2 separate regions of the Homo sapiens genome follow, and region 1 is linked to region 2. Evidence: promoter capture Hi-C in human tissues and cell types (Jung and others, 2019). All regions are on one chromosome and are shown on one strand. Each heading gives the region's core, a stretch centred on a gene start or on the middle of the fragment in contact. The rest is flanking DNA. Distances are from core to core; before and after follow the strand shown.

Evidence for each region. Contacts are between HindIII fragments. The study calls those that stand out against the background at their distance.
Region 1: a contact is called between a fragment that was not itself captured here and the fragment with the promoter of CLDN1 in region 2, in 2 of the 25 tissues and cell types used here (lymphoblastoid cells and mesendoderm cells).

The regions. Positions count from the first base shown.
Region 1 is chr3:189,948,115-189,953,548 of GRCh38, forward strand. No RefSeq gene overlaps it. Among named protein-coding and RNA genes, the nearest start is that of MIR944, 120 kb to the left of the region's middle. The HindIII fragment of the contact is 8,182 bases long and covers 1-5,434 here.
Region 2 is chr3:190,317,823-190,323,747 of GRCh38, forward strand. CLDN1 (claudin 1) reads right to left here and starts at 4,624. Exons shown (of 4, transcript NM_021101.5): 1 at 4,162-4,624. The coding sequence starts at 4,384. It also overlaps a transcript of CLDN16 not described here. RefSeq lists a silencer at 4,615-4,774. The HindIII fragment of the contact is 5,719 bases long and covers 788-5,925 here.

The DNA of each region.
Region 1 (5,434 bases), core at 110-2,609, 370 kb before region 2:
GGCAAAATGACATCATGGTTGTGAAAGCAGCTACCCGTGTGAGCCACGATGACTATTATAAGCAGTAGAGGTAAGTAATACTTGTCAGGGTAGTGGTTGTCAACAATTAGTGTTGATATTCATGGCAATGCATGACTTACTGATTTTTTTAATGTTGTCTATTTTATCTTTTATATATTTTATCTTTACCACTCCATATCATACTCGTCATTTAAGAAACAACTCTAGACTAACTTCCTGCCAAATACTTCCTGGGTCACACTAGCCTACCGAACTGAACTCTGCTGTCCTCAAAAACCTCCAAAACATATACCCTTTGCATTCAGGCATGTACCACATGTATCATTTCATATCATGTTCCCACCTGGACTATAAATGCAACATCTCATGCTTGTTTAGCATTTCTCTAAATGCTGAGAACATAGTAGATGTTAAATCAAGACTTGCTAAAATGAACGAATGAATGAATGCATAGAGGCATCTTTCTTTTTTATTTTTAACCCCTCACAGCAAAATATGCTAATAGTGCCCTCTGCTGCTGACTAACGATTCTGTTTTTTACACAGTTGAAAAGCAAGTGACAGAAAGCTCAGTAAAAGGAAATAGGTAAAAATTGTGTCTTTCAAGGTGCTTGGCACAAACAAAGTAGCTGTAATGTCACAGTGCAGACAGAAAGCTAGGCTGTCAGAAGGACCAAATGAGGTGGCTGCAGACAAGACAAGCCTCTCTTTTCTGGACTGCTGATTGACAACCAGCTTGGAGTTCAAACACTCTCAATTTTGTAATTTTGTAACAAGTTTCTCTTCTCCTGTGCCCCTGCCCTAGCAATAAGTGTGTTATATATGATCAGACTATTTCTAAATGTAACTGTATGAAAATTAACCTTGAAGGTTCTGAGGTTGATCAAGGGATAATGCACTAAAAAAAAAAAAGTCATGAGAGCAGGTGAAATATTGCCAGAGAATTCACAGTCCTATTCATTTTCCTTCATTTTAGGTGTTCTGATATAGTCACAAGTCATTGTCTTTTAATGATTACCTGCTATGTGTTCGGCTCTCTTTTTATAATCTCAATTAATCTTTCTTCTTTTCTTTCTTACTCTTTTTCTTTCTTTCTTTTTCTTTCTTCTTTCTCTTTCTTCTTTGTTTCTCCTTTCTTTCTTTCCTTTCTCCTTCCTTCCTTCCTTCCTTCCTTCTTTCCCTCTTCCCTTCTCTTCCCCTTCCCTCCCCTCCCCTCCCCCACTCCCTGCCCCTCTCCTCCCGTCCCCTCCCCTTCCCTTCCTGACAGTATCTCCATATGTTGCCGAGCCTGGTCTCAAACTCCTGGCCTCAAGTGATCCTCCAGCCTTGGCCTCCTAAAGTGCTCAGATTACAGGCATGAGCCATCATGCCTGGCCAATGAAATCTCTAGATAACTTATGAAATAGATATTACCAGCCTTTTCTTTATAGATAAAGACACTGAACAGATGTGCGTTAAAGGCCAGTAAAAGGCAGAAAGGGCTGCAAGTCCATGGTAACACAGTCTGCACTCTTCTCTGCAATTCCATAGCTTCTCAGTGTGGTCTGCCGCTCTAGGAGTCAGAGGAGCTGGTTTTGAGTCCATATTTCTACCACTAACATTTCAGTAAAGTTGAGTAACTCACATTTCTCCACCTCTAAAATAAAGGGCATAAGGTCAGGTGCTTTCTAAGGTCCCTTCCAACTTGGAGTCAGTTGTTTGCAGTGTCGTTCACTTGCTAAGCTATAAATACAAAGCACAATTGTGGCTATGATTCTTCCTTGGGGTCCCTACCATGGACTTGATCTTCCCTGTTTAGCCTGCTCTGATGAGTTAAACGTTGACCTCAGATCAATAATGAAAAGCCCTCTGTGCTGACGTTGATGGTCATTCAAATATCATTCTATTTAATTTGTAAATCCTTCTACACATAAATGACATGTTTTGACCACAGAGTTCAAGGCATGATAGTTTATTTCATGCTGATTCTGAAGGTAGGGCAGTTTTCAGTTTTGGCACGCCAATTTGTCACATTTGACATTTTTGACAATCAGCCTTTAGCTGGTAAGTGGCTTGGTGGGCAACGTGTCCCTAGTTAATAGGCACACCCCGATAGCTCACAGTCTCCGGGGACAGCCATCTCTGCAGCATGCCTAGCCTTTGAAGCGGCTCACGCGTTCTTCAAAGCAAACTTTCTGGTACAGGGAGCAACATCTGATGTACTTTTATTACCCTTAGAGACAAAAAAAACATCACTCAGAAGCCAAACGTCTGCAAGGAAAAATCTGTACCCTGTGCTTAGCCCTGCGGCCTGGAAGTTCAGAGAAGGCTGAAAGTGCTCCCTGTGAGGAAACCAGGGCATGTTTAGACAGAGCTTTAATCATGTCTAACCAACTCAGAGCAGTGGCAGCAGCCATCTTGCTGAAGATGTCGCCTCCTTCTGGATTTGCACTGGAGTGTGGGGGAGTGGGTGAGATCTAGTGTCAGATAAGCTCATAATAATTCCTACTGCTTCCTAGTTATTCAAAACATCAAAACTGCAAAATCTTCTTAGAGAGTTCAGCAACTTTTTTTTAACTCGAGGAACTGACATCTACTGACTTTGACTTCTGTCAAATTATTTATCTATTCTGGTGTTTTATTTTTTCCACTATATGAGAATAATCATCACATCTATTGGGATGTCGTGAAAAACTTAGTGAACCCAATGCTAAACGATGAAGTGGACTACTTTCCCAGAAATCTTTACTCTGTCTAGGCAAGGGAGCTTCAACAATACCGCCCATGCCTGTTCTTTACTTAATACTAAGTAGCTAAAGTTAGAATAAATTGCAGATTAAGACCACTGAGAATCCAGCTGTCCTAAAAGATGTTTACACCTTTATCTGGGATGCTGAAGGGTTGAAAATCTCCAAGTAGTCTTTATTTAATTAACCAATGTTAACTTCAAAGAAATATAATTCTGGTTCATATTACCTTGTGAAAAAAAAGTCCTGAAATTCTGAACTTGAAATATAATAAAAATTCTAGCATCTATTCAGTAAATGTTGCTAAACACTGGACTATCGTGATAGACCAGAATATTACTCCAGTGACCGGAAGCCTTGAAGTCAGCTTCTGAGCCTCAGGGACTCTATAATTTATTCTAAATCTAAGTAGTCTGATTGCCTAAGACCTTCAAAGGCATTTGCAAAGTTTAACACACCAAAAAACAGGTACAGAGAACAAAAAGGGTGATTGGATGCTTGTTGCTTTATGTCCTATTTGACCCTTTGGTTTTAAATGAGGTAAATTGCTCCAATTAACTCCTGTTGGAGATGGTTTTCTTTCAATGATTCCTTCTGTTCCTTGTTTGACATTGGAAAAGATGTCATTAGTAAAGCATTACATGGCTTTCGGGTTTTATTAAAAGACTGACTGAGTTTACCAAATGCTAGGCTTTTCAGACAACATACCTGTGTGCTGCAATATTGTCATTATTCCCATTTCTGATACGAAAGTCTAATAATTTGAGTGAAGTAGATTAGTTCCAGGTCATGTAGGGTAGAAAGTTTCATGGACTTATGGGCAGAGGAATATGCTGCTGGTAGAGCCCATTGACTTTAGTCTCAACGATGAATTCACGTCAGCTATTTCTGATAGTAGCTACTCCTCTGCTTTTCAGAAGGAAGCTCAGTCCTTCAGGGCTTTCACACTACCCACTTGAATAATACCTCCCTTGCAAGTGAATACAATAAAACTTACTCTTTAACTGGTATTTATTAAGATTTTCACAGCATTCATTAAACTGCTTTCCGAAGGCTATCTCATTCCACTCCACCCCAAAACACCAACTTTCTGAACTCTCATTTTCTCCGAAGGCTCAGTCCTTTAGAACCCAAGAAATCATTCAGTTCAAATGCAACACTTTTCAGCTGAGGACACTGTGATGCAATGAGAGGTTAAGTGGCTCATTCCCACGTATTGGTGGCAGATCAGTCAGGCCAGATCCAGCTCACCTGTCACCTTCTCTCCAACTTTTCCCTACCACTAACCACTCCTTTCCCACTTGCATGACCTTTCCTCCTACCCCTATCACAATCCTCTGCCGTAACATTCACCTTACTTTAAGTTGATCATTTGTTTACATCTGTTTTTTTCCACTTTGAGTTCCTTAAAAGAAGGGATAACATTTTATTCATCTTTAAATGCCTCCCTAAGCCTACAACGGCACGGCCACTCAAAAACTCTCTGTGAAATGAATTCATACATGACCAGGGCTTTACGACATCACCTTCTCTGTGCCTGTTTGTTTTTTCCCATTTACACAATGAAGATGGCATTGACGTGTCTCTCAAGATAATTATGTAGTTACATATGATTGCTACGTGCTTCAAGACCATAAAAAAGCTTTATAAAGCCAACCACGATTACAACCTTTGAAACAATGGAATATACGATTAACAAGTGGAAAGAGATGAGACATACCAGGTAATGCTTATTGTCCATTCCCTATTTCTACCTCCACCCACCACCAGGTAGTAACTCAGAGGTAAAAACATAAACTTGGAATAAGAGAGGAGGGTTTACCTCGGGTCTGGATAAGATTATTAGGACCGATGTCATCACGCTGCCGTCATGCGGGAAGGCACCTAGGTCTGATGAGAGAGGCCCAGGGCAAGATTCCCATATATATAGGTAACACTCAATTCACTGTTGAAATGAGGCTCAAATCAAGAAGGCACGTGGCCTTATCTATTCGAAATTGATTCGTCCTTCAAAAGCAGAAGATATCAGATAATTATAAAAGGGACTGTTAAGGTAGAAAGACTGTCAAACTCTAGGCTACCCTGGCTCTCCTCTGTGGCCATTCTACCAAAATAAAGAGAGGGGGTACAGCATGTCTTATTCACCTTTTGTTCTCCCTTCTCCTAAATGTACCATATAAAATGACTAGAAAACATGTGTCATATGTTGACTAAACGAAGCATTCATTTAGATTTTCCTCCCCAGCAACATGTCTGGAAAAAAAATGATAGGAACATCTTGTTTGGTTATTTTTATTGCGGGCCCTTAATAAGATAGTTGAAGCCAGAGGTGCCTCATTAACCCAACTTTTTACAGCTGATGCCATCCATTGTAGAGTGAAACAGAATCAATAGTCAGATTGTTCCCAACTTGGCTTTGCCCAGCCTCGGAGGTCAGCAGTGGGCACAGAAAACACTGTGAATTACAAGGAGGAGGAGGTAAAGGGGAAGCTCTGACAGAATGAGTCTGCAGCTCCAACCCAGCAGTGAGCTCAATGAGTGGCTGATGTTACTTGTTTTGATGTGTTTGAAGAAATCAACCAGGTTCAGGAGAAAAAAAAAAAAAAAAAAAGTCTATATGCCTCCTGTTGGAAACATCAAATTATCAGGGAGTAGAGGATTTGTGGGTGGGCAGTTGGAACTATGTGA
Region 2 (5,925 bases), core at 3,374-5,873:
AAAGAAATCCACCTATAAGTGGACACTTGCTGTTCAAACCTGTGTTGTTCAAATGTTGACTGCAGATTCCAATTCTCCCTTTGCATCTGTAGTTGCTTAATAAGTATTAAGTGAATAAATGAACTGATGATTGGGTGACTAGAACAAAAATATTGTGCTTCCTTCTCCCCTGCAATTAAATGAGCTCAACACAGACAGTCACAGAAGTGTACTCCCCTGGCTTTTCTCCATATTAAATCTTTTACTTTTACGGAAGTTCAAAGTTTCATAAAAGTCCTAATCATTAGCATTTCCCTCTTATTGGTGCATGAGGTGATGGTCACCAGATGTGAACTCAGAACATAAGCAAAATCAGGAGTGAAAATGATCCTGGATGAGGCAGGATGTACCACTTTTCAGGATGTCCTCAGAAGTTTTGCTACCTTTCTTGTTTGTGTGTTTCTTCAAGAAATTTTCTCAGAATTAAGTTGATGCTTCTATATTACCTCCATTATATTTCCTTAATCACTCCAATTAAGGAAACCTAAGCTATGTGACTTGCCTCTTCCCCTTCAATCACTGAAGTAATAACAAAGAATTCTGGCACTGGAAGGAATCTTAGAACTCATCTTAGCTGCACCATCCTTAGCAGCAAGAATAGGGCCTAGCTTGCATCTGTTGAATGGATAAACGAATCATAGATTCATCTCCCCATTCCTCCCACTCTGCCCTATTTTATAAGTGGGGTAACTACTTGAAACCAGGGAGATCAAGTGGCTCACCATTATACACTTGGCTACTTAGTGCCAAACCACAGTAAGAACAGAGAATTTCTGATCTCAAGCCTGGATTTTTGCTTCAACTTCCATTATTCTAAGAGTCAGAACTAATTTATGAAGTATATCTGAACACCAATGGCCCTTCGAGTACCCTCGGTTCAGCAGGCACAACGCATCTGGAGAAGCATAAATAGGTGCCCTCCTCTCCACTTAGGCTTCAAAGACTGTCCACGTCAGTGATTTTGTCTCTCTGATTGAGCCTGACATCATGGTGAGAGTGCTGGGGAAGCTCACAGCCACCAATACTCATTAAGCACACCTACACACATGTGGATTCATGCAAAGCAAGTTAAACAGGCTAGAGGAGCTTATAAACAAATTACAGAATCTCAGGGTTCGGTGAGATTGAGAGAGAGTCTAGCCTAACCTCCCATTTGTCTGGTGCTTGGATCTTCCCTACAACATTCCTTCAAAATGCTTATTTATTCTCTGCTTGCACACCTCCCACCATGCAGCCTCCTACAGCAACTCAATCTTTGGACAGCTCTAGCTATTAAAGTCAAGTAAGAAGAAGCATTTAAGCAAGCACATAAAATTGGCGCGAGCTTCCTAAAAGTTTGAGAATTAGATGAAAACAAGGCGAGAGGTACAGGTGAATCAAGAAAAGTCTACTACAACTGTATCTGGCACTTTTTGTATATTCCAACTTTCAGCTACAAGAATCCCCAGGGTCAATAAAATCACATACTTTGGATGAAATGGAAATTGTATCAGCCATTATAAAACTACAATACACAATGTGACATTTGTTTCCCCAGGAAGTGCCTCAGTTACATTTTCATAAACCGCTTGGCAAGAACTACCTAAAAGAAGAAGCCTTGCTCTATCTCATTTTGTATTTACTGTATACACTATTAGCACACTGTATTCCTTCAGATACTTTATGAAGGTCATATGCTTTTTATGACCTACCCTACATAAAGCAGGGAAACAACAGATTTTAATACTTCCCGTGCTAAAGCCCTGCATCTGGCCGGGAAGACAAGTGTGCTCTACTGGGAAAGACGGCAAGGTACAATTTCGGGAAACCCACAGCTAAGCTTTTCACCTAAACACACTTAATGAAATGCAGCTTTTTTCTGAGTGATACTGCTTAAATATACACACATAACCCTTTTCATCTCTACATGTAACAAAACTGTACCAAAACCAGCCAATGAATCACCATCCCAGATCTCTACAGCTGGTGGGCGTAAACACCACTGCTCAGGCAGAGAAATGAAGTAAGGTTTCCTGGGTTCTATCCAAAAGCATCCCGTGAGTCACGGCAGGTGAGAGGAGAACACCTGTGAGTCAAGGGTCCCTCTTCTGAGAATGGGTTTTGAGAGAAAGGCCTAAGCCACACCTTGGATAAACTATGGCTTTAAGTAAAATAAAAGTGGATTCTGATCTGGAGTTTTAAAAAAATAGGAAGACATCTCTAAAGTGTGTGTGGGGGGGTAGGTATTTAGTCCTTTCACCCTAGTTTTAAAAACTGTAATAACTACATTAACCAAAAAATGAAAGTAAAACATTTTAACACATTATCATGTGTAAGGATGATCCATTTGAGTATTTACAACATAGATCAATCTGATTTCATTTGGTCATTTCAGGAAGTTAAAAGAAAACCTATTTAAAGATGTTGAAAAGGAACTATTTTGATCAGAGGAATAAAACTGACAGTGAGACCTCTCTGGAATTGTCCTTAGAAACCTCCACCTGCCAATTCCTTAACGTGGTACCTAAAATGCCTGACACCGTTTCCTTAAATATATTTATCTTTCCATGGAGAAATTCAATAATTATTACCAAATTTTTCATTTTATAAGTACAAATATAACCCCTGAGGGCAATGAGCAACACATAATTACTAAACTTATGGATTGGTTTTGGTGTAAAGAAGTCCTGATATGAGAACCTTCAAAAGCTGAAATAATAACACTCAAAACAACCATGCACATTGACTGAGCAAATGCCACAGGTATTCAAGGTGTTCAAACAGATTTGGAACAGGTTTAATAACTCTAAACTATATGGCTTTTGATATACACTATTAAAAGTTGTCCCTTGATAGGAGGTAGACAAAACAAGTTAAGTAAACTTGAACAATGCCAACACTTTTCACCCTTAGCATGCAATGGGGGCCAGTGGGCAGTCACGTTCATCTAGGCAAAGACTAAGGGATCTTTTCTTCAAGTGAGTTAAAGGGCATAACAGACACATGATATAAGACAATTAATGTGATTTCTCAAGGAAGATACTCCAGCCGTGAATCATTATTATCTAAGTAAATGGGAATTTAATGACTTTTCGGACAAGGAACTCGAAACCTTTAATTTAAAAAACAAAGTAAAACAATTATCCTATTATCCTTCTTCCCACCATCCTTAGAAATATGTCTCTCTATACAATCCTTTCCAGTTTTACAGGGGGTCACTGAACATCCATTACACAGAAATTTCTTTGTGGAAGATGGAAACCTAAGGAAGACCCACCTCTTCTTTCTCTCTCACTGCCTTCCACTCCCAGCTGACCTCTGATTTCATCAGCTATGACTATTTTGCTGCATTTCCCTTCAGTGCCTTTACTTTTTTCTTTGTATTATGTTGCGCAGGTTATTTAGAACCTTTCTTGTCAGCCTTTCCCCACCTGCCACCAACCTTCTCTTTCCAAGATAGCACTACACCGTCAGCCTCTACAGAAGACCTTGGGTCTGAAAATTAAAACTTCGGGGGAATCTCAAGCAGCTTCTCCAAAGAGTCTTGCAAGGGGCCTCCCTGCACTAACTGGATCTTATAAATTAAAAGAATCAACCTCAAGCATAAGCAGAAGACACTTAGATAGGACATTTCCAGTAGGAATGTAACTTTTACTATGAAAAAATCATATTAAAGGTTAAAAAGTTATATCTAATACTTGAGGATTATTTATTTAAGCGTGCACACTTGAGAAGTTACCAGGCTTCAAACTTTTTCAGTCATCCCATTTTCTTGTCTGAACTCTACCAATCCTCAATTTACCCCAAATCTCGGAATGCCTAGGAGAGGTCTAAGAGCTCAAGTTCAAGTTTGGCCTTCACTCCCTCAACTCGAACCACCAGCATAGGAATTTAGGATGAAGCCACACCTAGAGTGGCAGAAGTGTCACCCAGGGAGTTAGAGGCAAAACTAGAGCTTATGCCTGGGCGTCGCTTTCCTCAAACCAGGATTCTCTTCATTTCCTTATGACAGAGCACATGATCAGAAGACTTGATCAACTGAAGACTGATAACCATGGAATCACACAACAGAATGAGCCCATAAGGGAGCTGCAGGGGGACTGGGGCCTCTGGACGGCCGCTGTGAGGTGGGGGTGCACTCACTGCTCAGATTCAGCAAGGAGTCAAAGACTTTGCACTGGATCTGCCCGGTGCTCTGCGACACGCAGGACATCCACAGCCCCTCGTACATGGCCTGGGCGGTCACGATGTTGTCGCCGGCATAGGAGTAAATCCTCCACTGGGGCAGGGCAGTGCTGACGATGGCGCCGATCCATCCCAGGAAGGCGAGAATGAAGCCCAACAGCTGCAGCCCCGCGTTGGCCATGACTCGCTCGGGCGCCCGCGCTGGCTCAGGGGTGGCAGGTGCAGAAGGCGGAGAGTTTGCAGGTGGGCAACCCGGACTCCCGAAGGTGGCTGGGCCCCGCGGAGGAAGTTAAGGCGGGGAGCCCTGCTCGCTGCGCCGCCGCTGGAGAAGCTCTGGGTCGGGGTTGGGGTCCGCGCCCGGGGCGGCGCTGGAGTCTGGATACTAGAAGCTGCGGTTGCTCCCAGGCTCGGGAACTGAGACGCAGAACCGCTGGGCGCCGCGATTTAAAGCAGCTCCGCCCGCCTCAGCCCCGGCAGCCGGGGAGCGCCCCCTGGCGGTTTCAGGGCGGCTCACCGAGAGGGCGCCGGGAGCGCCCGGTTGGGGAACGCGCGGCTGGCGGCGTGGGGACCACCCGGCAGGACCAGGCACCAGAGCTGCGTCCCTGCTCGCTTTCTCTCGTGGATCTTCTCGCTCCTGTAAGGCGTTTCACGCTTTTCATTCATTCACTCCAATTATCCAAAAATTACTATGCACTGTACTTGTAAATCCTAACACAAAGATGAAAAAATGATCCTTCAAGAGCTGCAGTTTTAGGTTTAATACTTTTTTCCCAATATCTTATTAAAAGGCATTTCTACCCAACTCCGCGTCTCCTCCCCCATCACACCATTTCTCTCTCCTTTGCTTGGCTTCCTCCCCCTTCTTTCCTCTCTCTGCTCTCTTCTGTCAAGGTCGTTCCATCACTTGTCTCTGCAAGGAGCCTCAGAGACTTTTACACTCTACAGATTGGGAAACAGACCCAGAGAGCAACATGATTTACACACACACACACACACACACACAGACACACTCACGCACGGAGCATATCCAGTACTTGGCTCCCCTCCCAATCTGCTTTCCACTACATATCAAGTTGACCCAAAATATCCCCTTTGATCTATGATTGTCCTTTTTGATGTATTATTGTCCTTATGAAACTGCAGGCTAGCAGCCCTTCCCCGCCAAACACCAACCTCCTCCCCACAGCAGTTATGTCTTAGAGCAGCAATTCATTATCAGAGGGACCTGGCCAGTGCCCCGCTCTCCCTGAAAGGTGTTAATTTTGTGAGTTATCAAATGTTGTTCGTCGCAGGTGAGGACATGTAAACAGCGTTTCCCCAGTGGCAAAAGGACTGGGCTGGAGTTGAGGAAGTCTGGGCTCTGGTTCCAGCTTTTACTGTGACTGGCTATCTCACCCCTCCGGTTTCGGTCTCGCTGGGACTGTAGTTTCCCTCTATGTTTCTCCAAAGCTTCCTTCTTTGTAGTTAGTCAGAAGTGCTGTTGTGGTTAGGAATCATTGAAATGTTTTTCCAACTGCTTTTTGTGTGTGGTGCGAGTGTGGTGGGAGGGGAAGCTTCTATGGTTTTAGTAAAAACAGAAGCATCTTGGAAGCAGAAATAAACATATTAAGGATAAAATAAGATATACCCTTATATACCATGGCAACTGCTAGTTGGTGACAGAGAAGGAAAGGTGCAAATTCTCAAGGTGGGAATGGGAAGAAAGGCCAAGCCCCACCACCT